Regions from separate parts of the Homo sapiens genome. Here region 1 is linked to region 2. The links are contacts of gene promoters, found by promoter capture Hi-C in human tissues and cell types (Jung and others, 2019). All regions are on one chromosome and are shown on one strand. The core of a region is centred on a gene start or on the middle of the fragment in contact, and the rest is flanking DNA. Distances in the headings are between cores, read along the strand shown. Region 1 has its middle 31 kb from the start of ABCA1. Region 2 holds the start of FSD1L (fibronectin type III and SPRY domain containing 1 like).

Region 1 (2,739 bases), core at 234-2,733, 490 kb before region 2:
CTCAGTAAACCCATGCTCTTTCCTGTGCTATGTGTTTATAAAGCATCTGTTCACCATCTGATGCCAGCGATTGAACATCAAATTCACCAATTTTACGATTTTTTTCCTATCTTAAAAGTTAGATTTATTTCATTCACAACTAAATTTAGTTTTATTTTTATTAATAAAACATAACAGATTTGGGCAAGACTTCGAATATAATGCATTTGCAGATAAAAATCTATGTTTATAGCTTGTGAGGGCCCTGATTCTATCACAACTTGAAAGTTGAGAAAACATGAGGCTCTAACCCATATGTTGCACCCCCTGGGTTGCTATGCCACTATATCCATCACTGTGTTTATGTGGTGTTTCCCTCGGTGTCCTTTGGTGCTCCCGTGTTTAATACTGGTGATAAGCACAAAGGCAGAGCCCAAACCTCAGACATATACAAGAGGTTGATGCAAATGATTTAATAATTGGTAGGAAAAGCAAGGTGACATACTAGAAAGAAATTACACCAAGATAGCAGCAGCCAAACAGCAGCTGTCCTATTCCAGTGTGGATGCACAATAAATACGACCTAGTAAGATGAGAAAGGCCAGCAGCAGCCTATATTATATTATTATACCCCACCCTGACCCCCAATATGTAATGTCAGTTCCATAGTTTATGGAATGAAACCAAATAAGCCCACATTCCCAACCACCACCACCCCCCTTTTTTTTTAATTAAAAGCAATAATTGTGAAGGGAAAGTGAAGGTAAAATTTTGCTCTTGTAACGTTCATTTTGTTTCTTTTTTGAGATGGAGTTTTGCTCTTGTTGCGTGGGCTGGAGCATAGTGGCGCAACCTCAGCTTACTGTAACCTCTGCCTCCTGGGTTCAAGCAATTCTCCTGCCTCAGCTTCCTGAGTAGCTGGGACTACAGGCATGTACGTACCACCATGGCTGGCCAATTTTTGTATTTTTAGTAGAGATGGGGTTTCACCATGTTGACCAGGCTGGTCTCAAACTCCTGACTTCAGGTGATCCGCCCGCCTTGGCTTCCCAAAGTGCTAGGATTACAGGCGTGAGCCACCACACCTGGCCTTCATATTTTTATTTAATGTGCTCTAGATCATGAAGATAAGAGCAGAAAGAGTGTTGGAAATTAAAACAACTAACTCCTGCTGCACCTTGAGCTGGTCTGCCTGCCTCAATGAAGCAGGCAGTTGAATTTGTGTGTGCATCCAAACAAACCCACATGCATTGGTTTTCCCTTGCATGCCTTGCAATTTCATGTTTCAAGAATTTTATATTCCTTTATGTAGGAAGCTGACAATCACAAAGGAGTGTCCTTAGAGTTTTTTCTAATTTTTATGTGCCTAACTATGCTTCATCCCACTCCCTTTTTATCTTCTCTCTTTCAGAAAAATTCTAATTGGACACCATGGAGTGAGTTTTCCTCTCTAGTTCAGATTATATTTACAAAATTGCTAGAAAAACACCAACATTGCCTCACCCCCAGACAAAATATTACAAAGCAATCTCCTCTGTACAGCCAAATTACTGTCATGATCACACAGGAAACAAATGCAAAGTTACCCTCTCTTCTTCTCAAATTCTTAAGCAATTGAGGGCAAGGACCAAGAGAAAGAAAAACAAAAGTTGCTTTGATTGGGAAAAATATTTTGAGAAGTATTACGATGTGAGGTGTCTGACATAGTAAATTTTACTTAACCAGAATATTCAGGGAATGGGGCTCTAGTATTTGTTTTTGCTTGTTTACTTGCTTTTGTTTTAAATTCCCTAATGTAAAAGATGCTGTGTTACTACATGATTCCATTTTCATGTTATTCTGGAAAAGGCAAAGCTAAAGAGTCAGAGGATAGATCAGTGGTTTCCAGGGTTTAAAGGTGAGAGGAAGCGTTGACTACAAAGAGACAGCACAAGGGTGCTTTTTCGGGTGTGGAGCAATTCCGCATTTTAATTTTGGTGGTGATTCCATGAGTGTATGTATGTTTCAAAGCACGTGGAAATACACAGTAAAAAGAGTGAATTTTTCTGTAATAAAATTAAAAATAAACAACTGCAGTAAAATATTAAGTTGTGTGATGAAGAAGGAAGACTACTGAATCGCGATTTAAGTGACCTAAGGTGACTCCTGCTAGCTACATCCCCCTTTCTAGCACTAAAGACAAACGTACTTTTGCTTTTATTCTTATTACTAGAAATCTTTCTAATTTTACTTTAGGATATGCGCCTACCATAGGAAGTAGAACATTCAAGACGAAAACATCAACTGTCCTTGGTGTTTCAGTCTTCGGGACCTCTTTGTCACATTCTGGGATACAGAAGGTAACTACCAGCATGGGACCTCCCCATCTGAATGCTCACCCTTCCCTGTCCTTCCCTGGTGCTTTCCACCTCCACAAGCTATCATATTTTATAGATTTACCAAAGTCTTAATGCATTTAATTATTTACACATTTTATTGTACGCAAAATTAACAATTACATTCTTAGATGCACTGAATGAGTTCAACAATCAAGCACTTGAGAGAGCAACATACGGTTCTGTGATTGGATTTAGCAACACAGAGACATTTATACTGAATTGTCCTCCTGCCCATATTCTCTGCAACTCTCAGCTCTGCCTGTTTCCTGTAAACAGCTTTTATGCTAGAGCAGGCATCTCCAACAGTGAATCAAGAGAAATCCTTCTATCAGACAGTCATGCATTGTTAACTATCATGCACTGAGGTGTTCTTTGTTAGAAA
Region 2 (2,700 bases), core at 138-2,637:
GGTGTGAGCCACCATGCCTGGCCTAAGTTTTAATTTTAGCACCTATAACCGTCTAGCACGTTAACTTTTTTTTTTTTTTTGGTTGGTCTTCTATACTAGATTGTAAGCTCTGTGAGAGAAACAGGGCCTTGCCCACTACTGAATTTTGTTTGTAGAACTGGTACAGAATAGGTACTCAATATGTATTTCCCTTTTATTCATTCATCATAAATGACTGTCTAATTGAACTTTTGTGAGCCTCTCCAGAGTCATCCAAATGGAAGATGAGGCCTGTCTGCTTGAGGAAGAACTTTCTCAAGCCTACTAAATTCCAAGCTTTCTAAAATCTTCATTGATGCCTCAGGCCACACCGAGCAGGTTCTAACTCCCCACTAAGAATGACTATAATGGGCCTGGCACATGCCCTGTAACCCACACCTGTAATCCTAGCAATTTGGGAGGCTGAGGTGGGCGGACTGCCTGAGCTTAGGAGTTCGAGACCATCCTAAGCAACATGGCTAGAACCAGTCTCCGCTAAAAGTACAAAAAATTAGCCAGGTGTGGTGGGGGCGCCTGTAATCCCAGCTACTCATGAGGCTGAGGCACGAGAATTCCTGGAACCCGGGAGGCAGAGGTTGCAGTGAGCCAAGATGGCACCACTGCACTCCAGCCTCGGTGACAGACCGAGACTCCATCTCCAAAAAAAAAAAAAAAAAAAAAAAAAGAGAATGACTATAATTTATTCACTACTAATTATGTACCATACGTTATTTAATCCTCACAATCCTCTGCAAAGTCCGCATTATTTCTCTCATTTTACAGATGAAACAAGCTCAGGCAGACTGACTTGCTCAAAATCATACAGGTAGCGAGGTGCCGGGGAGGATGGGTGGGTCCCCGGGAAAAACTGTGCCAGGCCCCAAAGCTCATATTAATCCCACACCCACGTTTCCGCCACTCTCATCCCTATATCCCTCCTCCCACGTTTCCACCACATCCCCTAAAGGTCTTTTCCCACGTTTTCGCTACATCCCCACCCCAGCCCTTTTCCTCCCTTTGGACCGCTGGGTCCGCTCAAGCCTGGCTGCCCCTCGAAGGATAGTGTGGGGAGGGGCTTCAGATGCGTGCTGGGTGGAGGGTGGGCTAATCCGTCTCCAGCACCAGATACTCTTTCCTTCCCGGGCCCTCCGCACCGGCCGGCTGCTGGATGCCCAGTGGCCTATTTCAGGGCCGGAGAGACCGCTATCGCTGGAGGAAAAAGGATGGGGGAAGGGAGTGCAGCCTGCAGAGGCACTAGCGGTAGACAGACGGGCGGCGCTCCCCACCCTCCACGGCTACTTCCCGGGAGCAGTCAGCCGCTGCGCGCAGGCGCGGTGCGCTCCTCAGCCCCTCCCTTCTGCGGGCCGCCCTTTCACCCTGGCAACCGCGGCGTGACTACGGCGCGCGCGGTCTGGGCGCGGACGGGTGGGGCCGGGCGGTGCCGGTGCGGGCTGGGGCAGTGCAGTGAGTAGCGGTCTTGGGGTGTGCGATCTCGCTGAGCCTCCTCACACGGTTCGTCGTCTCGGGTTCGAGCCCAGTGGGCTTAGCCACTCGCCATGGACTCCCAGAAAGTAAGCGGGGGAGGGGAGCCCGGGGCTACCGAGACAAGCCGGGCCGGCACAGGGTGGGCGGGGCGCCTGGGCCCGTGGGCTGTGGGTGCGCGGGGTGGGCCTGGCCGGGCGTCCGGGCTGCTGCTGCGGAGGGCAAGGCCGCCCGGCCGCTCTCTGGGCGGGAGCTAAGAGGCGCCCACACGGATGCGGGGACCGCGCCCGGTGACTCGGGCTGGCCTCTGCTCTGCGCGCTGTCCGGGGCCCTGACTCTGGAGGAGAAACGGAGCCATCCCCCTTTTAAAATCAGCCACTCTGCAGCGCTTTAGGCCGGTTTTCATGCCTGCAGACTGCGAGCGTGCTGGTGGGGGTGTATCCCTCCTCAGCAGGTGAGGAAACCGAGGCACAGCCTTTTTGGTGTCTCCCTGCTGACGCCGAAAGCTGGGGCTTTCTCCTCGACCAAGTCTCGTCTCAGCACCACGCTCTTTAGGTCAGGGACCGAATCTCCTTTGTACCGCCCACCGCTCCCCTTCCCATGACTTTTCCTAAGTAGATCTTAGTGTTTAGTGTTCGTTGAATGGAGGGAAAAGACTTCAATTGTTAGGGCAGCCTTCCCACTCTCTGACCAGTTGGTGTTGCTGGGCACAGTTACTTAGGGGTCGTTGTGGAATGTTTTATACTTTCCGAACAGTTGAGGAAAGGTTATATAATCGTAAAGGTTCAATTCAGAAGTATTTGGAGAACAAAGCCAATGTCTTGAATACAGTTAGAAGTGAATTATTCAGTCATAATCTCCATATGAAAATAACCACCCTGTTCTCTTTGTTAGACTATAACGTAATTGAAATATAGTACAGGGTAGGAAAGAAAAAACAAGGAGTATTAATAATGTAGCAGGGAAAACAAAGACATATCTAAGAGACTATTCTTTTCTATTATTAGAAAGCACGGGAAAGACTTAGAACAACGTTTTCTACAATTTTGTCTACATTCACCTTCTTGAGGATCACTTCACTGAGGGCATGAGAGAATAATGATGTGTTGAGCATTGACTATTACAGTATTTAACAAATATGCATATGATTTCATTGTATGTGTTGGTCTTGAAACTCACCTTGGAATGCATGACTATTCT

The links. Contacts are between HindIII fragments. The study calls those that stand out against the background at their distance.
Region 1: a contact is called between a fragment that was not itself captured here and the fragment with the promoter of FSD1L in region 2, in 1 of the 25 tissues and cell types used here (spleen).

What each region holds. Positions count from the first base shown.
Region 1 is chr9:104,957,413-104,960,151 of GRCh38, forward strand. No RefSeq gene overlaps it. Among named protein-coding and RNA genes, the nearest start is that of ABCA1, 31 kb to the left of the region's middle. The HindIII fragment of the contact is 8,350 bases long and covers 1-2,739 here.
Region 2 is chr9:105,446,647-105,449,346 of GRCh38, forward strand. It overlaps FSD1L (fibronectin type III and SPRY domain containing 1 like), which reads left to right and starts at 1,388. Exons shown (of 14, transcript NM_001145313.3): 1 at 1,388-1,589. The coding sequence starts at 1,575. RefSeq lists a silencer at 1,269-1,878. The HindIII fragment of the contact is 8,259 bases long and covers 1-2,700 here.